Linked DNA regions of Homo sapiens: all the other regions are linked to region 1. The links are contacts of gene promoters, found by promoter capture Hi-C in blood cells and fetal thymus (Javierre and others, 2016). All regions are on one chromosome and are shown on one strand. Each heading gives the region's core, a stretch centred on a gene start or on the middle of the fragment in contact. The rest is flanking DNA. Distances are from core to core; before and after follow the strand shown.

What was found. Contacts are between HindIII fragments. The CHiCAGO score rates a contact against its expected background, and 5 or more counts as called.
Region 2: a fragment that was not itself captured here is called in contact with the fragment with the promoter of DNAJC21 in region 1 in 1 of 17 cell types (neutrophils); the score reaches 5.6 in neutrophils.
Region 3: a fragment that was not itself captured here is called in contact with the fragment with the promoter of DNAJC21 in region 1 in 1 of 17 cell types (total CD8 T cells); the score reaches 5.6 in total CD8 T cells.
Region 4: a contact is called between a fragment that was not itself captured here and the fragment with the promoter of DNAJC21 in region 1, in 3 of 17 cell types (neutrophils, naive B cells and activated CD4 T cells). The highest score is 8.4, in neutrophils.
Region 5: a fragment that was not itself captured here is called in contact with the fragment with the promoter of DNAJC21 in region 1 in 2 of 17 cell types (total CD8 T cells and total CD4 T cells); the score reaches 5.2 in total CD8 T cells.
Region 6: a contact is called between a fragment that was not itself captured here and the fragment with the promoter of DNAJC21 in region 1, in 11 of 17 cell types (naive CD4 T cells, activated CD4 T cells, total CD4 T cells and 8 more). The highest score is 15.5, in naive CD4 T cells.
Region 7: a contact is called between a fragment that was not itself captured here and the fragment with the promoter of DNAJC21 in region 1, in 1 of 17 cell types (neutrophils). The highest score is 5.9, in neutrophils.

What each region holds. Positions count from the first base shown.
Region 1 is chr5:34,927,779-34,931,115 of GRCh38, forward strand. It overlaps DNAJC21 (DnaJ heat shock protein family (Hsp40) member C21), which reads left to right and starts at 1,781. Exons shown (of 12, transcript NM_001012339.3): 1 at 1,781-2,138. The coding sequence starts at 2,042. LOC124900961 (a long non-coding RNA gene) reads right to left here and starts at 1,903. Exons shown (of 2, transcript XR_007058731.1): 1 at 1,871-1,903; 2 at 1-1,355. RefSeq lists silencers at 1,457-1,926, 1,937-2,006, 2,037-2,236 and enhancers at 2,265-2,910, 2,377-2,546. The HindIII fragment of the contact is 5,598 bases long and covers 696-3,337 here.
Region 2 is chr5:32,141,395-32,144,731 of GRCh38, forward strand. GOLPH3 (golgi phosphoprotein 3) reads right to left here. Exons shown (of 4, transcript NM_022130.4): 2 at 2,355-2,486. Among named protein-coding and RNA genes, the nearest start is that of GOLPH3, 31 kb to the right of the region's middle. The HindIII fragment of the contact is 6,855 bases long and covers 1-3,337 here.
Region 3 is chr5:32,177,553-32,180,889 of GRCh38, forward strand. No RefSeq gene overlaps it. Among named protein-coding and RNA genes, the nearest start is that of GOLPH3, 4.9 kb to the left of the region's middle. The HindIII fragment of the contact is 304 bases long and covers 1,342-1,645 here.
Region 4 is chr5:32,298,831-32,302,167 of GRCh38, forward strand. All of the region lies in intron 1 of MTMR12 (myotubularin related protein 12), which reads right to left. Among named protein-coding and RNA genes, the nearest start is that of MTMR12, 12 kb to the right of the region's middle. The HindIII fragment of the contact is 5,364 bases long and covers 1-3,337 here.
Region 5 is chr5:32,435,567-32,438,903 of GRCh38, forward strand. The region is part of intron 2 of ZFR (zinc finger RNA binding protein); the gene reads right to left. Among named protein-coding and RNA genes, the nearest start is that of ZFR, 7.5 kb to the right of the region's middle. The HindIII fragment of the contact is 3,794 bases long and covers 1-3,337 here.
Region 6 is chr5:37,372,925-37,376,261 of GRCh38, forward strand. No RefSeq gene overlaps it. Among named protein-coding and RNA genes, the nearest start is that of NUP155, 3.5 kb to the left of the region's middle. The HindIII fragment of the contact is 2,807 bases long and covers 209-3,015 here.
Region 7 is chr5:32,538,795-32,542,131 of GRCh38, forward strand. All of the region lies in intron 4 of LOC124900954 (a long non-coding RNA gene), which reads left to right. Among named protein-coding and RNA genes, the nearest start is that of SUB1, 45 kb to the right of the region's middle. The HindIII fragment of the contact is 822 bases long and covers 1,169-1,990 here.

The sequences.
Region 1 (3,337 bases), core at 531-3,030:
AGGGTCTTGCTCTGTCACCCAGGGCTGTAGTGTGGTGGTGTGGTCATAGCTCACTGCAGGCTCTAACTCCTGGGCTCAAGTATTCCTGCCTCAGCCTCCTGAGTAACTAGGACTACAGGCCCACGCCACCATGCCTGGCTTTTTTTTTTTTTTGTAGAGACAAGTTCTCGCTATGTTGCCCAGGCTCGTCTTGAACTCTTGGGCTGAAGGGATCCTCCTGCCTCGGCTTCCCAAAGTGCTGGGATTACAGGCATGAGCCACCACGCCTGGTCAAGATGTTCCTTTAGACTGAAATTTATATCCAGCATAGTTACCTTTAATTATACAATGTTACAGGCAAAAATCCTTCTTACTTCAGAAGGTAAAAGAAGTAAGTGATTCCTACAGGCTGTATCCAAAACCAAATCAAGTTGGAGGGAGAAAATACTCCAAATTAAGTTGGAGGGAAAAAAATACTTTCCCTTTCCGTTTTTTTTTTTTTTTTTGTCCCTCCCTTCCCCCCGCCCACCATCCCAATTCTGTTCTCAGGAGGGGAAAGGTTTCATTCTCCCCCAAACTCAGACTTCTCAATCCTTATCCATTACCAATTTACCAACTAACTGAGACTGTGTAGAATCTTCCTCTGGAAAAAAGGGAAGTGTATGAATTCTGAGTAGTGAGTTGGTTGGTCAGTGGCGTGTGAAGTAACCTGATGAAGCTTAGCGTGGGTTTTTTATTTTACTGGGGGCAGCATATTGGGGAAGAGAAGGATAACCTTACTAAACCGCTTGGGTACGCCAACCCTGTGCAATAGATATTAGCAACATAGCTAACCATACATGGTTAGTAAATACAACCCACACCTAACTGATGCATGTAAACATTCCACATTACAGTGAAATATATTGGTGTATTAATGCATTTTAATAATTATGGTATTATTTTGATACCTTTCAAAGTGTTTGGAATAATTGTGCAGATAGTCAGATCAACCAAAACCTACCAGTTAAATACTATCCTTTAACTGCTTTCTTAACCTAAACCAATCTTGGAAAGGTAGGATTAGAGGCCAGAAAGTTAGGATTAAAGTGTGTTGGATGGATAGATCAGCACAATTTCATCCATGTTGGTGGTAAGGCTTTTCATTAAGTGTGTTGATGCTTCCCTTTTAAATTGTTTCCGCTTAAATAATCTAACTGTCCTTTCTCAAGCATATTGGTCAAGATGATCAATACCAGATATCTTAAGTGGCAGCTGAAGAGAATTAAAGAGATTAAAAAAAAAACCTGATATTCAGTCCAACCGAATTCTGCTACTGTATTAGCTGAGGAGGCTTGAGCCAACCACTTGACCACTTGGAGTCTGAATCGCCTTATCTATAAAAACGGGGATCCATTGAGAAATTATAATCAGATATTTTCCAGAATCCTCTCCCATCCCAGCTCCTATCTCCCCCTTCAGCCCTCAGGTCGGCTGCCACTCACACTGACCGCCATCTGTGCCCCTCACAATGACACCAGCGTGGCCCTGCCTCCCTTCCGCGCGGCCCCGCCTCTCGCCCCGCCGAGGCCCCGCCTCTCACACCAAGGTCCCGCCTTCCTCCTGTTCTTCCCGGCCAAGGCCTACCTTCCTCCCACGCGGCCCGCCTCTTTCCCCGCCAAGCTCCCGCCTTTCTCCTGCGCGGCCCGCCTCTCTCCTCGCCAAGGCCCCGCCTTCCTTCCTCGGGGCCTCGCCTCTCACCCCGCCGAGGCCCCACCCCCTCCCGCGCGGCCCTTTCCGGCACAGAGCCCACCCCTAGCCCATGCGAAGCGGCGGCCGCCGGCACCGCCCCCGCCGCGCTCCCGCTTGCCGCAGCCTGCGTCGTCTGCCGCCACCGCGCGCCTTCACTGACCTACACCACCGCCGCCGCCGCCGCCGCCGCCGGGCTCGCTGGCTGGCCCGGTGCGGGCGGCGGACTCCCGCCGGAGAGGACTGCCAGCGCCGCCGCCGCCGCCGCTTCGGCCCGGGCCCGGGCCCCGACCCCGTCCCGGGCCCCAGCGCCGGCCGCCCGCCCGGTCGGGCGATGAAGTGTCACTATGAGGCGCTGGGGGTGCGGCGCGACGCCAGCGAGGAGGAGCTCAAGAAGGCCTATCGGAAGCTGGCCCTGAAATGGCACCCGGGTAAGTACCTGTCCCGCAGCCCCCGCGGCCACTCGGAGAAGCCCGGCCCTCCCCGACCTTCCCTTCCCCCGGGCGGACTCCGCGGAGCCAGCAGAGAGGGACCTGGCGGCCTAGGAGCTCCTTGCCCCGCCCGGCCAGTGCCCGGAGCCGCCCTGCCCGTCTCGGTGGGCGAAGCGCTCTGCCCTGGCGCACCCCGGCTCACACCCCATCTCCTCATACCCGCGACCCCGGCCCCGCATCGCCACTGTAGGGGGAAAACTGCAGTCCAACAACCTCACTTGCTCCCGCTACCGGGTCGCAGACACCACGAGGGAGCAGTCGGGAACTCGGAACTCAGACCTGCCCCAGGCTTGCTTTTCCCTGCGTCCCTTGCAGCGCAGCCTCTCGGTGTTTTTCCTCCGCTGCCCTCCACCTCGTCCGGGAATCCCAGATACTTCAACCTGATGTATGGCTCTTTTCGTTTCTTAGTTAAGAAGTTAAGACACGGGAGCTAGTAAAATATCTTTTCAATAGGGATGCGCTTTTTTCGCTGTTTTTTTTTTCTTTTAATAAGCTGTTTAAGCAGACCTTGTACTTCACTTTGGACATGATTCTGCCGGGGAAGGTTTTAATCAGGCGGCTTCCCCAGTAAAGTTTGTATGTTTACTTAGAAGTATCCTTCCTTTGGATGTTTCATTGGTCTGTAATCCAGGCCTGTGTGACTTTTATGAAGTAATCTGATCTTCCAGGCTGGGAAACTAAGAGAGTAGTTGACTTTCAGCTTTTTGAGGTTCATATGAAGAGGCTTTCATATTAGCATTCATCAGTAAACACGGTTACAGAGTATCCAATATATGCAAGTCACTGCACTCTACTAAGTAGATTTGGAAATGCTGAGACAGGGGTCTTAGAGTCTTGTTAGGAAAACAACTTTCTGCCTTACACAAATGAAAAGTTAAATACAACTGCCAGAAAAAAATCGCAACATACATAATTGGTGGTTAGATTAATGGAACAACTAATATATGCTCCAGGAATTCAGGGAGGGAGTTACCATTTTGTATTGAGTCTTCCCCTTCTCAGAGGAGTTTGGACTGGATCGTAGAGGAATGCAATTTGGAAAAGTGAACTCAACAGTATGGAGGATAGCATGGTGGAGGACAAAAGATGTTCCGGGGGACAGTTTGACTGAAGGTGGTGTGTATTGCAGGTCTGAAAAA
Region 2 (3,337 bases), core at 534-3,033, 2.8 Mb before region 1:
AAACTAGCCAATATTACCTCTATTAAGAGAAGCACCTACACAGACCTTCAACAGACAGGTATCTGAAAAGTATTCATAATCTGATGAAAAGATCAATAGCCTATGCGTAAATTGCACAATAACACTTCTGAGTTTTTAATGTCAAGTCTTTCAAAATTATGGCTTTTAAAAGCTGCAAATGACTCTCCCTCTCCCTCTCCCTCTCCCCACGGTCTCCCTCCTCTCCCTCTCTTTCCACGGTCTCCCTCTGATGCCGAGCCAAAGCTGGACGGTACTGCTGCCATCTCGGCTCACTGCAACCTCCCTGCCTGATTCTCCTGCCTCAGCTAGCCGAGTGCCTGCGATTGCAGGCGCGCGCCGCCACGCCTGACTGGTTTTCGTATTTTTTTGGTGGAGACGGGGATTCGCTGTGTTGGCCGGGCTGGTCTCCAGCTCCTAACCGCGAGTGATCCGCCAGCCTCGGCCTCCCGAGGTGCCGGGATTGCAGACGGAGTCTCGTTCACTCAGTGCTCAAAATGGTGCCCAGGCTGGAGCGCAGTGGCGTGATCTCGGCTCGCTACAACCTCCACCTCCCAGCAGCCTGCCTTGGCCTCCCAAAGTGCCGAGACTGCAGCCTCTGCCCGGCCGCCACCCCGTCTGGGAAGTGAGGAGCGTCTCCGCCTGGCTGCCCATCGTCTGGGATGTGAGGAGCCCCTCTGCCTGGCTGCCCAGTCTGGAAAGTGAGGAGCGTCTCTGCCCGGCCGCCATCCCATCTAGGAAGTGAGGAGCGCCTCTTCCCGGCCGCCATCACATCTGGGAAGTGAGGAGCGTCTCTGCCCGGCCGCCCATCGTCTGAGATGCGGGGAGCACCTCTGCCCTGCCGCCCCGTCCGGGATGTGAGGAGCATCTCTGCCCGGACGCCCCGTCTGAGAAATGAGGAGACCCTCTGCCTGGCAACCGCCCCGTCTGAGAAGTGAGGAGCCCCTCCGCCCGGCAGCCGCCCCGTCTGAGAAGTGAGGAGCCCCTCCGCCCAGCAGCCACCCCGTCCGGGAAGTGAGGAGCGTCTCCGCCCGGCAGCCACCTCGTCCGGGAGGGAGGTGGGGGGGTCAGCCCCCCACCCAGCCAGCCGCCCCGTCCGGGAGGTGAGGGGCGCCTCTGCCCGGCCGCCCCTACTGGGAAGTGAGGAGCCACTCTGCCCGGCCAGCCGCCCTGTCCGGGAGGGAGGTGGGGGGGTCAGCCCCCTGCCCGGCCAGCCGCCCCGTCCGGGAGGGAGGTGGGGGGGTCAGCCCCCAAGCCCGGCCAGCCGCCCCGTCCGGGAGGGAGGTGGGGGGATCAGCCCCCCGCCTGGCCAGCCGCCCCGTCCGGGAGGTGAGGGGCGCCTCTGCCCGGCCGCCCCTACTGGGAAGTGAGGAGCCCCTCTGTCCGGCCAGCTGCCCCGTCCAGGAGGGAGGTGGGGGGGGTCAGCCCCCCGCCCGGCCAGCCGCCCCGTCCGGGAGGTGAGGGGCGCCTCTGCCCGGCCGCGCCTACTGGGAAGTGAGGAGCCCCTCTGCCCGGCCACCACCCCGTCTGGGAGGTGTACCCAACAGCTCACTGAGAACGGGCCATGATGACAAGGGCGGTTTTGTGGAATAGAAAGTGGGGAAAGGTGGGGAAAAGATTGAGAAATCGGATGGTTGCCGTGTCTGTGTAGAAAGAGGTAGACATGGGAGACTTTTCATTTTGTTCTACACTAAGAAAAATTCTTCTGCCTTGGGATCCTGTTGATCGGTGACCTTAAACCCAACCCTGTGCTCTCTGAAACATGTGCTGTATCCACTCAGGGTTGAATGGATTAAGGGCGGTGCAAGATGTGCTTTGTTAAACAGATGCTTGAAGGCAGCATGCTCCTTAAGAGTCATCACCACTCCCTAATCTCAAGTACCCAGGGACACAAACACTGCGGAAGGCCGCAGGGTCCTCTGCCTAGGAAAACCAGAGACCTTTGTTCACTTGTTTATCTGCTGACCTTCCCTCCACTATTGTCCTGTGACCCTGCCAAATCCCCCTCTGCGAGAAACACCCAAGAATGATCAATAAAAAATAATAATAATAAAATAAAATTAAAAATAAATAAATAAATAAAAGCTGCAAATGAAGTCTAGAATCTTTCTGAATTTGTAAGATCCAGTGGCCGGTTACCTTAACAATCAATTACATTACTCATTGTAGGTGAAAGAACCAGGAAACCAAGAATGCAAAAAAGATATGGAAATACAATTGAAGAAAGACAACTTTAATATCAACTTCCACTTTAATTTTTGAAGGCTACTAGTAAAAACATACATTTTAAGCAGTACAACCTCTTTAAAAAGAATGTTACTCAGCACTCCTCTTACCTTTCTTGTTAATAGACTTTTACGTCTCATTCCACAAGCCTCTAGTTGTAACCTTCCTCTCAATGCTAATTCAATTAACATACAGCCACGTAATCCAGATGATATACAGTCATTCCAAAATGATGTGTAACCCTATTAAAAAAAGAAGAAGAAATAAAACAAAATAGCTAATTTACCTTGAATTCAGAGTAAAAAACAGAAATATTATCAGCCAAAGTCATATTTGGTGCCTTTTACCTTTCCTGTCTTTCTATAATAATATACTGAAAAAATACAATTAACATAAATTACTAATCGAGAATTTTCGGGGGCTTATCTTTCCACCACTTATTCTTACATACAAACAACAAATAACTTTAGAGGTCATAAGTTTAGAAACATAACTCACATTTCACCAAGCTGTGTGTTTATTAGGTTCTTTCAGAACCCTGCAAACTCCAAGGAATACTCAGTTAACCCCAGATTATAGTGATTTATTTATGTGGACAAGTTAAGAAGCTCAGGCAAAGACAACCTAGCCAAGTTAGCTTCACAGAGAATTAGAATACCATTCATTTATTGCTGTTTAGGATAAAACCACAAGGTTAATCCGAGCACTTTGGGAGGCTGAGCCAAGACGATGGCTTGAGCCCAGGAGTTTGAGACCAGACTGGACAACATAGTGAGATCCTGTTTCTACCAAAAAAAATTAATTAGCTAGGTGTGGTGCTGCACACCTGTAGTCGCAGCTACCCAGGAAGCTAAGGCAGGAGGACCACTGTGTCCAAGAGTTCAAGGCTACAGTGAGCAATAATTACACCAACACACTGCAGCCTGGGCAAAACAGTGCGACATTGTCTCTTAAATACACACACTGTTAATTTTGTAAGAAGATATTAGAAAAACACACATGCGCCCACAAACAAATGGATGGCTATAGGCCTAAAATTCTCAATAATAAACAGTATAACAATCAGATTGGCCCCAAGAGAGAATGTAAGGGC
Region 3 (3,337 bases), core at 244-2,743, 2.8 Mb before region 1:
AGGTGCTGCTGCTGTGCTGACCAGCTCCACATGGACTGCAACCATCTCATGCAGTGCGGTCTGGCAGCACCTCCATGCCTACCTACAAGTGTGGGAGAGTAAGCACTTCAAGCAGGTGGATAACAGGACCCCTTTCTTTCCTCACATGAACTGTCCTGAGATCGTTTATACAACTTCTCAGTAGCATTTAGCTCCAGCAAGCTCAACGACCCCTTCACTCCTCGCTTCCCTCCACTAGCTTCTGCTCCCAGCTGTTGCACTCCCTAATAAAGCACAAAAGACTTTGTCTTAGGCCCTGCTTCCTAGGGAACACAGATTAAGATGCCCATTTTACCTATGAAGAAACAGTTCAGAGAAGTTAAGTAATCTGCCCAACTTAACACTTCTGGAAAATCACAGACCTGGATTAGAACCCTGGTCCTTAATTCAGTATCAAACAAGTATATTTCTACATGTTTGCTGCATGCCAGGCATTGTCATAAGCAATAAAGATACAATACTAAGCCAAAAGAGACATAGCCATACTTTTCATGAAACTGACAGTTTAATGAAGGGCACAGATATTAAGCAAATCCTGATGCTAATTAATGTAGAAATGTAGAAATGCTTTGAAAGAAGGAATACAGTCCTATGAGATCATGTACTGTCATATATGTGAGAAACCTAAGTTTTTATCTGGGACTCAAAGCTGCTCTGAAGAAGTCATAAGCCAAAGAATGAACTGAAGTTAACCAAGTTGGAGGTAGAGGACATTCCTGAGAGGAAATATGCAAAGGCCCTGTAGCAAAAGACAGATCATGGGATGGAGGAGAACCAAGTAGAAGAGTTTTTACCTGGGCTGAGGGAGGGAGTGATGGCAAAAGCAATAGTTACAGACAAGGTCCAAATCATACAGTGCTGTCCATTTTAAGGCCATTTTAAGATTTGGGTCTTTTTTTTTTAGACAGGGTCTCGCTCTGTTGCCCAGGCTGGAGTGCAGTGGCGCAATTTTGGCTCTGCCTCCTGGGTTCAAGCGATCCTCCCACCTCAGCCTCCCAAGTAGCTGAGACTACAGGTGCATGCCACCACACTGCTGATTTTTGTTTTTTTGTGTGTTGTTTTTTTCTGTAGAGACAGGGTTTCACCATGTTGCCCAGGTCTTGAACTCTTGGGCTCAAGCGATCCGCCCGCCCTGACCTCCCGAAGTGCAGGGATTACAGGTGTGAGCCATCGTGCCTGGCCAAAATCTGGTCTTTATCCAACCAAACTCAATGGGAAGCTATCAAGGGTACTTTTAAATGCCCTCCGTGGGGGAAGAGGAGATGGGTGGGTGAGAGATGTTACCAGATTTGCATTTTGAAAAGCTTGCAGGATATACCCAAGGCATGGATATAGGATACAGAAGCAGCTCATTTTTGCAGTAGTCCTACAGAACCTGATGGTAAGTTCGACCACAATAGTGGAAGAAGAAAGGGTGGTAAGTGAATGTATTCAAGAGATAGTTAGTAAGTTAAACTGACACAACTCAATGAAAGACTGACTACGGAGTGTTGGGGCATAAAGGAGCGGAGATGTCGAGGATTACTCCCACTTCTGGCTTGTGTAGGAGAGGATGATATAGGGATCGCTGGGCAATGACCAGGTTTGCGTGAGTTTATTTCAGTTAAGCTTTTAAGAAGTATATAAAACTTCCAAGAGAATTTGTTGTGTAGGTAGTTCTATGTACAGAGTCTTTCTGGGTTTTTTTTATTGTTGTTTTTTGGTTTTGATTTTGCTTTGAGATGGAGTCTTGCTCTGTCACCATGCTGGAGTGCAGTGGCACGATCTTGGCTCGATGCAACCTCTGCCTCCTGGGTTCAAGTGATTCTCCTGCCTCAGCCTCCTGAGTAGCTGGGACTACAGGCACGCGCCACCACGCCCAGCTAATTTTTGTATTTTTAGTAGAGGTGGGATTTCACCATGTTGGCCAGGATGGTCTCAATCTCTTGACCTCGTGATCCACCTGCCTCGGCCTCTCAAAGTGCTGGGATTACAAGTGTGAGCCATCACACCCGGCCCAGAGTCTTTCTGTTTTAACCCAATAAAAATTTCAAAATGCCTAGAAAATGAAAGGCACCAGAAGAAAACTATGGGTAAATTCTTTTGTAATCAAGGAGAGAAGAAGCCTTTATTATCATGACTCAAAATCTGATTTTTAAAAATTTGAAATAAATTCACAGGAATTGCAAAATTAGTGCAGAGAGAGCTTGTATACCCTTAGTTTCCCCCAGTAGTAACATGTAACTATAGCACTATCAAAACCAGGAAATTAATATTGGTATGATCCACAGACATTATTCAGATTTCATGGGTTTTATGTGCATTGATTTATGTGTGTGTCATTCTATGCAATTGTACTACATGTAGATTTGTGTCAATACCACCACAATCAACATATAAAAATAAGCCAGGCATGGTGGCACACAACTGTAATTCCGGCACTTTGGGAGGCTGAAGCAGGAGGATTGCTTGAGCCCAGGAGTTGGAGACCAGCCTGGTCAACATAGCGAGACCCCGTCCCTACGGACTTTTTAAAAAAAATTAGCCAGGCATGGTGGCGATGCCTGTAGTCCCAGCTACCTGGAAGGCTGAGGCAAGAGGATCACTTGAGCCCAGGAATTTGAGGCTACAGTAAGCTCTGACTGTGCCACTGCTCTCCAGCCTAGGTCACAGAGTAATATCCTGTCTCTAAAAAACATAATAAACAAATAAAAAAAGATATAAAATTGTTCCATCATCACAGAGATCCCTCATGTTGCCCCTTTACAGTCATGGCAGCTCCAGCCCCTCTCCCGACTCTATCTCCGACTCCTGGCAACCACTACTTTGTTCTCCATCTATAATTTTGTCATTTGAGAATGTTATATAAATGGAATCATACATTATGAAGCCTTTTGAGATTTGCTTTTTTCACTCTGCATAATTCCCTTGAGATCTGTCCAAATTGCATACACCAATAGTTTGTTCCTTTTTATTGCTGAGTGGTAATTCATGGTACTCAGGTACCATATTTGTTTAACCATGGATCCATTGAAGGACTTTCCGGTTGTTTCCAATTTGGGGCTATCACAAATAAAACTGCGATGAACGTTCATGTACATGTTTTTATTTGTTTGTTGTTGTTGTTGTTGTTTTGAGACTGAGTCTTGCTCTGTCACTCAGGCCGGAGTGCAGTGGCACGATCTCAGCTCACCGCACCCTCCGCTTCCCGGGTTCAAGCAATTCTCTTGCCTCAGCCTGCCGAGTAGCTAGGATTACAGGCACGTGCCACCATGCCTTGCTAATTTTTGTGTTTTTAGTAGAGATGGGGTTTCACCAT
Region 4 (3,337 bases), core at 504-3,003, 2.6 Mb before region 1:
TAGTCCCAGCTACTCTGGAGGCTGAGGCAGGAGAATGGCACGAACCCGGGAGGCGGAGCTTGCAGTGAGCCGAGATCGCGCCACTGCACTCCAGCCTAGGCGACAGAGCGAGACTCCATCTCAAAAAAAAAAAAAAAAAAAGAACAATGCTGGAAAGAAATGAGGTCAAGTCTTGCCACAATCAGGACCTGCACTGGTGGCCCAAAGAACACACACATGAATGCGCACACACACACACATACACATACACACACACGCACACACACACACATACCTGCAGCTTCTGGGGTGGTGAGGAATAATAGCAACTAAATAACATTTAATAAATGTTCACTACCTGCTAGGTACTGTGTAAACAGCTTTCCACAGATTGCATCACTTAAGACTAACAGCAACCTTACGGGCTTTTATTTTATTCCCATTTCACAGATCAGAAAACTGAGGCTCAGAGAAGTTAAACACCCAGCCCAAATTCACCATTAGCAAGTAGGAAGCCCTGTGTGACACCAAAGCCATGCTCTTAACTACCACATTATACTGAAAGTAAAGATTGTTGTGCTGGGATATGTACAAGTGCCAGAAAAAAGGTGTCAGGTGGCAGTTATGGGGCTGTCACTGCTTTATGATTTAAGCTAACGGATGTGACTGACAGCAGCTGCAGAGACACATGGCATTGCCATCTGTGCCTCCCCTTCTACCACCGCCTCCAAAACTGCTCTATAAACATTAAGTTAGGGGAAGAGCTGGGAGAAGTTAAAAGGCTTGGAGCAGGAAGAAGGCAAGAGGAACCAGGGACAGATGAGAGGTGCCCACAGGCTCACTAAGGGCCAGACTGATCTATGGTACAGCAGCATGTCACAGAAAGAAGGAATCCTCATAGAATCTTGGAGATACTCCTGCAGGTCCGAGCAGCGACCCTTGGATTCTATTCCTCAAGACTTCTCTCTCACCATCACACATGTGTGCACACACCTTACATAAGAGATGGGGAAAGATGTCACCCAGTCCTAACACAGCTATGAGCCTTTCACACCCCTCTTGCCTGCTTGCTACATTATCCCCCTCCTCCCCACACCAAATCCCGCTTTAATGTCGACCTTTCCAAGTCCTACACAGCTTTTGCATAAGACCAGATGCTGCCTTGGGTTCTGCAGTGGGTCTTGCTCTGTGCCCCCAGAGCACTTGGGCATGCCTCCCTCATAAGTAGGCAGCTCCGACCTCTGTGCAGAGAACTCTGGTGACCAGCCATCTCCCCAAGAGAAGGTGAAGCTCCTGAGTGCACAGACTGTTTCTTTGCATTCCTAATTTTAATAGTGCTTAGCAAATGGTAGATACATAAAAATGTTGCTTAAATAACAAATCTTCCAGTTCAAGTTATTAATAATAACAGCACCTAGCAGTTGTTGAGTATCTGCCATGTGTCAAGTCCTTAGCTGGGTTTATATGGTTTATTTCTTCTCATCCTCTAAATCAGCCTGCAGGGAAGACACCTATTCACGTTACAGGTAAGAAAAGGAAGTCTCGGATAGGTGAAGTTACATGTCTAAGGTCACCACCAAGTGGCTGAGCCTGGATCAGAACTTTGCAAAATCAAAGTCTCTTCCACAATGCTATGGCACCTTGTTTCCATCCCCAGACTCCTACTGTGGTTGGTTTATTCCTCAGTTGCTCCTCTGTAACAGGACCAGACACAGAGACAGCCACACCCTCACCACACTGAGGGCCTCTCTCATGCACCCCAGAGCTCCCATACCCCCTCTCTGTCTGCCACCCAGATTACATCTGCCATACTTACTGCGCTCCTCAGGTACTACTTATAGGTACATCAGGTTCTTCCTGTCACCCTTTTAGCATAGATCATCTTTATTCAGCAGGTAGCAGAAAGTGATCATTAAAACAAAAAGAGAAAAAGCAGCCACTTCTCTTCTCCAGAACGTAAAGCTGCATAAAGAGATTTGTAGGGGCCAGGCACAGTGGCTCACACCTCTAATCCCAGCACTCTGGGAGGCCAAGACGGGTAAATCACCTGAGGTCAGAAGTTCAAGATTAGCTTGGCCAACATGGTGAAACCCCATCTCTACTAAAAATACAAAAATTAGCCGGGTGTGGTGGCATGCGCCTGTAGTCCCAACTACTCAGAAGGCTGAGGCAGGAGAATCGCTTGAGCCTGGGAGGTGGAGGATGCAGTGAGCCGAGATCTCGCCACTGCACTGCAGCTGGGTAACAGAGCAAGACTCCATCTCAAAAAAAGAAAGAAAAAGATTTGTAGGGCAAGTGAACTTGAAGCTAAACTAGGCAAGCTGGGGTGGGGCTGGGGGCTGCAGACAGATGACAGGTAGGTAGGTAGGTAAAGAGTGAAAAAAGAGGGGCCAAGAGAATACATTTGGGCATCAAAGGAGAAGGCACAAAGTATAAACACTGAGGCCAGCCCAGGAGTCCCTCAGAGATAAAACAGGGGTACTTGCTGATGCCAAACAACTCATCCCTGGGATCTGAACCCCAGATTCCCTTCTTTAACTAGCAAGATACCCAATACCACAGACTGACTGACCCCCTAGGGAAAGTGCTATTCCCAGTGGTTTGCATAGACAGGAGGCAAATATTCACGGGGAGACCAAGAGTGAAAGAGAATCATTACTTCTTCCAAGGACAGGGACACATTGGGAAGTTGATCTCAAGGGATTCAATTTTATGTTTGGAGGAACATAGATTTTTTTATTTGAAAAACAGGACTCATTCACTTCAAGTGTTCTCAAATACTTCAATACTCTTAGCAAAGGCTGGGCGCAGTGGCTCATGCCTGTAATCCCAGCACTTTGGGGGGCCGAGGTGGGTGGATCACCTGAGGGTAGGAGTTTGAGACCAGTCTGGCCAACATGGCGAAACCCTGTCTCTACTAAAAATACAAAAATTAACCGGGCATGGTGGCACACCCCTGTAACCCTAGCTACTCAGGAGGCTGAGATACCACAAGAATCGCTTGAAACTGGGAGGCAGAGATTGTGCCACAGCACTCCAGCCTGGGTGACAGAGACTACTCCATCTCAAAAAATAATAATAAAAATAAAAATAAACAAAAAATAAAAAACAAACAAAAAAACTCTTAGCAAAAGCAAAAAAACAAAAACAAAAACAAAAAACAAAAAACATTGTCTGAAACAGGAGCTGGCAATCTGTCACAAGAGGAAGGTCATCTTCAACATATTTCATCACTGTGGCCAGGGCTTCCCTTGCCCCCACTTATACATAAGCCCTATCTTACGGCTGAAATCCCTCCCTTCCCAAAACAACTGAGGTTTTGCATGCCACCTCTGAAAGCCTGTGCACCAGCCAGGCC
Region 5 (3,337 bases), core at 445-2,944, 2.5 Mb before region 1:
GAGAAGCTATAAAGCCACTTTCATAAATCACAGCACTCTTTGCTCTCATCTACATGGTTATTGTTTAAACAGTTTTATTGTTTTTCCCATCAAAAAGGGTCATATTTCTTCAAGCCTATTTTCAAAGACATGCCTTGCCCATTTAATGCTGACTACCATACTAGTAGTGTATTTTATACTATAGCTTTTCCCAGAAATATGAATTCAAAAAATTTATTTTCATTTGATTGATTTCAACCACAGTGCTTCCCAATACTTTAAGCCCATGTGACCTCTGGAGCTCTTAAGTATCTATGTGAACACTAGACTACAAACTTATTTTAAGCAAAATTTTATGCTATTTTTTTCTGTAGCTCCAAGTGATCAGATTCTAGTTTCCTTATAAAGGCTACTCATTAAAATTACACCAGTAACTTGATAACTGTACTAAATCCCTAATCCAGCAACTCTAAAGCTGACGACCTTGCTATCATCTTTTGGTTTTCATGACCCTAAATTCTCCTGGCTCTCTGTTCACACAGTATTTCTTTCTTTCCCTGGTCCTACCTTAAAGTTGGTAACCACAGTTGTATTCTTTTTTTTTTTTTTTTTTTTTTTTTTGAGATGGAGTCTCGCTCTGTCGCCCAGGCTGGAGTGCAGTGGCGCGATCTCGGCTCACTGCAAGCTCCGCCTCCTGGGTTCACACCATTCTCCTGCCTCGGCCTCCCGAGTAGCTGGGACTACAGGCGCCCACCACCACGCCCGGCTGATTTTTTTTTTTATTTTTAGTAGACACGTGGTTTCACCGTGTTAGCCAGGATGGTCTCGATCTCCTGACCTTGTGATCTGCCCGCCTCAGCCTCCCAAAGTGCTGGTAATACAGGCGTGAGCCACCGTGCCTGGCCCCATAGTTGTATTCTTTATTTTTCTATAAATAATTTAAAACATGTCTACTGAATGCTTGATATATGCCAGGCACTGTACTTTCTCTAGTTTCATCCATATTCACCAGCCACCTACTGAATAATGGCTAACATTGATAGAGATATAATATATGCCAGATACTGTTCTGAACACTTCACAAATAATGTTTTCTTTTCTTCATTTTATTAATAATACAGAGTCTCACTTTGCTGTTCACGCTAGTCTCAAAATCCTGGGATTAAAATCCTCCAGCCTAGGCCTACCAAAGTGCTAGGGTTACAGGTGTGAGTCACTGCCAGGTCCACCTTACAAATAATAGTGAATCCTCGAAACAACACAATGGAGAATGTAAAAACCTCCTGGGATACTGATAATGTTCTGTTTTTGTTTTTAATTTAAGTGCAAGTTACACAGGTACACTCGGTTTATGACATTTCATTTTCTCTTACATGTGCAGTTTTCCTATGAGGCAAAGAAAATATTATCTTCAATTTATAGATAAAAAAACTAACAACAGACTGTTTGCCCAAGGTCACATGGCAGGTAATAGGAGGAGCCAGATTCAGCTTAGGTAGTCTGACTTCAGAGCCAACCCAGTCTCTATTATATCATGCAATCCAGATATTTGTCTTGGCTCAATACTTTTCCTTTGTCTAAAATGACCTTCCCTTGATTTTCAGAATGAAAGAACACGAAGTCTACCTCAAACTCCATAGTCAAAATCCTCCAATTTCCCATTTTAGTATTTCATTAAAACTTAATTATAATGGCATAGTTATTTGTAGACTCATCTGTCTCCACCCTCATGCCCCAGAAGTGTAAACTCCCTGAAAGCAGGGACTATGCATATTGTAGATGCTCATAAAATATTAAATAAGTGAATTATTCCCTACAAATGCACTTTAATATAAAGTGTATACAAGACTAATATTCAAATAAAACAAAAAAAAACCCAAAGTTTATTTCATTCATTTTATCTCTGTATGAATAAAAGCTGTACTGTACATGGCTTTCATGAAATACTAAGAAATGATATACTCAGAACAATCACTCTAATCCTGTATTCTGACAGAGTGGTGTCATGGACAATTAATAGTCAAGCAACCTTTAATAAGTAGACTAAAGATCCATCCAAATAATACTAACATACTTCATCAATTACAACATTTATAAGCCTGAATGGTCTTCTGATTAACCTGATGATCTATGTCTCTGAGTAAAAATGTAGCTGATTTTTTTTTTAACAAATACATCTATTTAAACAGACATATATTAGATATATACTCTAATCCAACTGCTTATATAAGCATGTCTATCTCTGGGATCTCTATTTTAACTCAATAATCTGTCTATCCCTGTACCAATACCACATTTTTCTATTAATAATATTTTGGTATCTGATATTACAAGTCCTTCCTTATCATTTCTGCAAGACTTTCATGATATTTTTAGCTGAACACTCTCCTCACTATATACATTAAAATCCCTTTATCAAGTTATACCAAAAATCCTATGAGATTTTTATTGGAGTAATGCTAAATATATATAGGAGATAATAATTTGATGGCATTGGTTTTTCACTCATGAACACAGTCCATCTTTGTCATCTTTTATGACTTTTTTATCCTATTGTATTTTCTCTTCAAAGTGTTTTGAATACTTCATTTGTTTTATTCCTGCTTACTTAATAGATTTGGTGGCTATACATAAACAGGACTTATTTGAAATTTAATAATCTAATTCAATATTGATGAAACAAGAATGCTACTGATTTTATCTGAAAATTTTTTTTTTTTTTTTTTTTTTTTTTTGAGACGGAGTTTCACTCTTGTCGCCCAGGCTGGAGTGCAATGGCGCGATCTTGGCTCACCGCAACCTCCACCTCCTGGATTCAAGCTATTCTCCTGCCTCAGCCTCCCGAGTAGCTGGGATTACAGGCATGCACCACCACGCCTGGCTAATTTTGTAGTTTTAGTAGAGACGGGGTTTCTCCATGTTGGTCAGGCTGGTCTCGAATTCCCAACCTCAAGTGATCTGCCCACCTCGGCCTCCCAAAGTGCAGGGATTACAGGCATGAGCCACCGCTCCCGGCCTTTGCCTGATCATAGATCCAGAAAACTTGCTGTACTCTTATTACTTCTCATATTCTTGCCTGACAAGCATAACAATCATGTTACCTGTAAATAGAAACTTTCCTTCTTTCTCTATTAGTAATGAGGACTCCAAATGTTTTAAAACATTTTACTGTGAGATTATGAAACTCTCTATATAAATATATGATAGATATTAACCAAGGAATCCTTCTAAAACCCTTATAATATTATTACTTAAATCTCTACAGGAAACAGCATTGATAGGAATGCCTATTGATAATCAGGCACTAGGCTAGAAAATTTTATATTTAAACTTCACCTCAAGGCAAGTCAGGTGAGGA
Region 6 (3,337 bases), core at 362-2,861, 2.4 Mb after region 1:
ATGGTGAAACCCCGTCTATACTAAAATACAAAAATTAGCTGGGCGTGGTGGCGTGCGCCTGTAGTCTCAACTGTTCAGGAGGCTGAGCCAGGAGAATCACTTGAACCTAGGAGGCAGAGGTTGCAGTGAGTCGAGATCGTGCCACTGCACTCCACCCTGGGCAACAGAGTAAGACTCCGTTTCAAAAAAAAAAAAAAAAAGCATACCAAGCTTAATCCATGTTAATATAACACTTTTTTAAAATGAGAAATCACTATAGTTTCTAAAACAGGGAGAAGAATGCGATTATTTCATATTTTTGCAAATCTCTTTAGTGTCTGGCTCAGTAACGGATGGCTGGATTCTCATATCTGTATCTGCTGTCAATTGAAGAAAAATAACCCTCTTTTAAAGAATTAAAGTCAGTTTGATTCAGACTCAGGATTGCAACCTTTCAGAGAGTTTCTGTTAAGACTGCTCCAAAGTAGCTTTTAGCCCACAGCTTACATGTCAGGGGTTGGAAGCTCTGCATGTGCTCAGAAATTACATTAAACATGCTCATAAACTGGGTATAGTGACTCACACCTGTAATTCTAGCACTTTGAGAGGCCTATGCATGAGGGTCTCTTGAGGCCAGGCATTCAAAACCAACCTGGGCAGCCAGGTGTGGACCTGTAGTCCCAGCTACTTGGTGGGCTGAGGCAGGAGCATCACTTTAGCCCAGGAGTTCCAGGTTGCAGTGAGCCATGACCATGCCACTGCATTCTAGTCTGGTTGATAAAGGGAGACTCTGTCTCTAAAAAAAAAAAAAAAAAAAAAAAAAAAAGCTCATAAATTACATTAGAGCAAAATCTCATCAAAGTTTGGGTGTAAGAGTACATCTGGTTATAGATTACAGAGGCATAATCATGAATCCTATGGGACACTATCTTATGTACTGGAAGAGGCAAGGGGTAGGAACACTGAACTTACCTTTTTTTAAAAAATGCATTGATTGAAGCAAGAGACGTGGGAACCTGTGCTCTAACCTGCTTATTGTTTCCAGGGCATTCTTCTAGAAGTCTATACTTAGTCACTGAGTTGGGCTTTGTGAAATTCTGCTGGCAAGCAGAATGAGCAAACTTGGTTTTTTATGTTTGCTACTTTGTCTAACATGTCAACATTTTGTGACTTATTTAGTTGAAGTATAATATATTAATATTAAGAAAAGCTGGCCTCACCAGGCGCGCTGGCTCACACCTGTAATCCCAGCACTTTGGGAGGCCGAGGCGGGTGGATTGCCTGAGGTCAGAGGTTCGAGACTAGCCTGGCCAACATGGTGAAACCCCGTTTCTACTAAAAATACAAAAATCAGTGGGGCATGGTGGCGCAAGCCTGTAATCCCGGCTACTTGGGAGGCTAAGCCAGGGGAATTGCCCGAACCTGGGAGGCGGAGGTTGCAGTGAGCTGAGATCGTGCCATTGCACTCCAGCCTGGGCTACAAGAGCGAAACTCTGTCTCAAAAAAAAAGAAAGAAAGAAAGAAGGAAAAACTGGCCTCAGTTACATATTTAGAAAAAGAAGAAGTATTTTAATAATTGTCAACAAGTGCAGTCAGTTTTTTTTTTTTTTTAAACAGAGTTTTGCTCTTGTCGCCTAGGCTGGGGTGCAATGGTGCGATCTCAGCTCATTGCAACCTCTGCCTCCCAGGTTCAAGCAATCCTCCTGCTTCAGCCTCCTGAGTAGCTGGAATTACAGGCTAATTTTCTTTTCTTTATTTTTTTTTTTTGAGATGGAGTTTTGCTCTTGTTGCCCAGGTTGGAGTGCAGTGGCATGATCTCTGTTCACTGCAACCTCTGCCTCTCAGGTTCAAGCAATTCTGCCTCAGCCTTCCGAGTAGCTGGGATTACAGGCACATACCACCATGCCCAGCTCATTTTTTTGTATTTTTAGTAGAGACGGGGGTTTTACTATGTTGGTCAGGCTGGTCTTGAACTCCTGACCTCAGGTGATCCACCCGCCTTGGCCTCCCAAAGCGCTGGGATTACAGACGTGAGCCACCGCACCCAGCTACGCCTGGCTAATTTTCTGTATTTTTAGTAGAGACGGGGTTTCACCATGTTGGCCAGGCTGGTCTCGAACTCCTGGCCTTGGGTGATCCTCCCACCTCGGCTTCCAAAGTGCTGGGATTACCCGTGTAAGCCACCATGCCTGACCTGTTTTTCTTAAAGTGATAAACTCATTTCATTTATTTTTGAAAAAATGTTTGCCAAATACTTAAATATGAACAACTGTACTTTGTGAGTCATTCTTTCAGGTAAAAATAATGTTCCATGAAAAAAGCTAACCACTCAATTACAAGTGGTTTTCTTTTCGATGACCATTCTACTTAGATATGCATTAGCTGGGCATGGTGGCGTATGCCTGTGGTCCCATCTACTCAGGAAGCTGAGGCAGGGGAAGATCGCTTGAGTCCAGGAGTTTGAGGCTAAAGTGCTTCATGACTGAACTTGTAAATAGCCACTGCACTCCAGTCTGGGTAACACAGTGAGACCCCATCTGTAAGAAATTTTTTTAAAAACATACTTTATGATTACTTCTCATTTTGTCATACTGAAGGTTAAAAAGACGTATAATTAAGGGTCAGGGTTTAACGAAATGAATACTGTTTATGGCTTTATTAAGGATATTCCTAAGGGAAACTGATTTTGCTTACAACGCCTATGTAACTGAAAAATACAGTGACTACTACAACATTTTGAATCCTACTGCCTTGATTTATTTTAAGGGACTGTTTTAATTTAGGAATTTTAAGATAGAGCATGCTTCTTCAATGATTAGTAGAAACACAGATATAAACAAAGATTTTATTACTTACATGCCTGGCGGGGCATCTGGCGCACCTGGAGGTCAAGGAATGCAGTCAGGGAAAGACAAAGAGGGACTCATGAGCCAATGCATTTATTGGGTTCATGGTGTTTTCCAAATAGATTTCCCAAGAGGAATTCCCACACTTTAATTGGTGGGTTTAAAGCAAGCATGCACAAATTTGAGGACAAGCTTGTCAGCCCAGAATGGCTTTGAATGTGGCCCAACACAAATTCGTTAACTTTCTTAAAACATTGTGAGATTTGTGATTTTTTTAAAGTTCTCAGCTGTTGTTAGTGTATTTAATGTGTTGCCCAAGACAATTCTTCTTCTTCCATTGTGGCCTAGGGAAGCCAAAAGATTGGACACCCCGTTCTTGGAAGTCATGCTGTGACCGAGGTAGTCACTGTGGCATATCTGCACAGTCCATGTAGGACGTCAGTGTCAGCAGGGCCGGTGAAGTAGGCTGTATGTATTTATCCTATGGGGAGGCGGGCACCAGGAGGAAGTTT
Region 7 (3,337 bases), core at 330-2,829, 2.4 Mb before region 1:
AGGTTGCAAAGACCCCGAAGCTTTAGGAAAGCTGAACTTTGCCGTTGAGAAATTTAGGAGGGTAGAAATTGCAACACTATCTTAGCTGCAATTAGCTGGCATTTCTGCCAAGCGCTAATACATATTTCACCCTAACTTCCAGTGAAGGACGACATTGATAAGAATATTTGGGGAGTAGCTGTGAAAGTTCATCTGGTTTTAATAGGGAAACATTGTCCTTTTCTCTGCTGATTGGAGAGCAGGTCAGGCATGAAACTGGCCTCACCCAGGAAAGACTCACATGGTTCATTCTCTCTCCAGGAATGGTAGGGAAAGCACGTGTTTTGAAACACTGGGTTTTCCCTGGCCCGGGAGAAAGTGGATCAAAAGAATCGCTGTTTTCTCCGCTGTTGTTTGGGTTCTCTAGTTTGAAAGGGTCATGGTGGTGTCTCCTGATGGGCCATTAAAGGCAATGTTGAGGAGAATAGAGAAAATACATGAAGAAAGAATAAGGAAAATTGGACATTTGGTAGAAAAGCCCAGGATTCTCTGGAGAAACGTTGGAGGTAGTGCCGAGAGAGTCTGCTGCACCAGAGGTGCCCCACCAGGGGCCCCACCAGGGGACTCTTTAAAAGAATGTTCTTGAGCTAAATTCCTGCCAACCTTCCCATGTAGCTGGTGCAATTTTCACTCCATATTCTGCTTTCTTTATTTTCTACCGCAACTGAATTCTGAGTTCCTAATCCACTGGGACTCACACTTAATAGCCTGTCTATCTACTGGCATTTGTTTGCATTGTACAAGTACAACCAAAGGCTATAGGCTTTTGGGAGCCACAGTCAGGAAGAAGTCTATCTGTCTGTCTCTCTGTTCTTTAGACTTCAGTCTTCTTACACCCTTTCCAAATGGCAACGGGCACAAAATGGCCTATCTGCTGGAAGTGGGCAATGAGCAAAAGAGACACATACATGGAAACAATGAGTTAAGAATTTAAAATATTATTCTGCACACACGTAAGTGGGAACTTCATGTCCTCTGTTCAGAAGTAAAGCAGTTGGAACCTCTGGAATCAGAATCATCTGTGCATTTGCTAAAAATATAGATTCTTGTGCCCTACCCAAATTCTGCACCCGAAAATTCTGATTCTGCCTGAATCAGAATCTTTCCAGGCAATTCTTATGTGCATCAAAGCTTGAGAGTTGCCTAGACGCAGCCTCAGCTGAACCATCTACTGTGTTTTAATACTGAGTTGTGCTTGTTCTCAAGCTGGTTCAGAGCACTTTAATGTGCATTCAAATCATGCTGAGGTCTTGTTAAGTTAGGTGGTGGGACGTGAGATTCTGCATGTCTAACAAACGCTTGGGTGATGCTGCCACTGCTGGTTGGAGGACCACCCCTTGGGTGGCAAAGTGCTAGAGAGACTATTTTTATTTCCTTTGCACTCCTGTGAGGCCATCTTGAGGCTTCTCAAGTCCCTGGGGCCAGTGATTTGCTTGCACTGGGATTGGAGATTGCTGCACCCTCATGGGTACTGTGCTTTGTTGACTGGGCTCTATCTCATGCTCATCCAGATTTACCCTGCCTTCCTGCTTCCCCTTCCATCTCCTCAGCCAACACCCCTATTCCCACCCTCACTCTTCTACCCCCACTCTGCCTAAGGGGCAGCCCTGCTGCCATAGCCTGGTCTTCCTCACACTGTGGGTCTACTCTGACTATAGATACATAATTGAATATCTTTAGATAATCTTCAGATTTGCTAGTATGATAAAGTCCTTCTTCCTCCTAGGAGAAAAGGGGAAGTGGGACTCGAAGCAAGCATGTAAAATTGAGTCAGGAGTTCTTTTTTCTCTTTAGGGCCACCATCAGTGGGTGGCCCCAGTGTAATGGAATGGAGTGGAAGATGTTACCATTTCCTACACTGTCCTTGACCTTGAAAGAAGAACTGAATCTATGGGACCTACTGCCACTTTCTATAGGTGGAGGGGAAAGGGGAACCCCGTTGCATGGCATAAGCTTATCCCTCAAGTCCTTGGTGAGCGGGGGTTGGGGGTAAGAGGGAAGAATTACAGGGTGTTAGAAGTGGTGAGATTCTTTTCTCCAGTCATGGAGAACTTCTGATATTCAATCCAGAATGGCTTTAATTGCTACTAGTTAACAATAAGAAAGAAGGTCTACAGTTGAGGTCTAGGGAAAGACTGGCTTGTAGTGCTCCTCAGGCTTGCAGTCACATTGAAAAGTCTAATGGTGGCCAGGCGCGGTTGCTCATGCCTGTAATCCCAGCACTTTAGAAGGCCGAGGTGGGCAGATCACCTGAGGTCAGGAGTTCGAGACCAGTCTTGCCAGCATGGTGAAACCCTGTCGCTACTAAAAATACAAAAATTTGCTGGGCATGGTGGTGGGTGCCTGTAATCCCAGCTACTTGGGAGGCTGAGGCAGGAGAATTGCTTGAACCCGGAAGGCGGAGGTTGCAGTGAGCGGAGATTGTGCCACTGCAGTCACATGAGATTGTGCCACTGCGGCAGAGCGAGACTCTGTCTCAGAAAAAAAGAAAAGAAAAGAAAAGAAAAGTCTAATGGTTAGAGTGAAGCCAGCCATAGCCAGTGGACTGTCATGACAATAGATACAGATAAAAATTCCAGACTGTACAGTTGTTGACTGTGGCTCTGGGCCAGAGTAAGATCTCTTAGGCCTGGGAAAGTAACCATAGATGTCACTGGCCCTGAGGCCAAGCAGAGCCAGTACCTCTCAGAGCAGTGGCTTGCAAACTAGGGTCTGCAGAAAGCTCTTTCAGCATCACCGGGGGAGATTCATAACAGCAATGCCAACACCCACCCTGAAGAGTCTGATTCAGCAGGGCCTCATGAGCTATATTTAAAAAATATATTATATGGGCAATTTAACAGTAAGTTAAATTGCAAGTTTTGACTTTGTCGGGTTTACGAAGCAATGCCTTAGCACAATGGTTTCCCAAATTTTTAGCAGAGAAAAATTTATTAACTAGAAAAATATTTATTGAACAATTACTGTATGCCATGTATTGTTGTAAGCCCTGGACAAAAAGTGGTAAATAAGACTGACGAGGTGGCTGGGCACCTGCAATCCCAGCACTTTGGGAGGCTGAGATGGGCAGGTCACTTGAGGTTAGGTATTTGAGACCAGCCTGGCCAACATGGTGAAACCCCCATCTCTACTAAAAATACAAAAATTAGCTGGGCATGGTGGCGTGCGCCTGTAGTCCCAGCTACTCGGGAGGCTGAGGCACGAGAATTGCTTAAACCCTGGAGGCGGAGGTTGCAGTGAGCCAAGATTGCACCACTGCTCTCCAGCCTGGGTGATAGAGCAAAACTCTGTCTCCAAA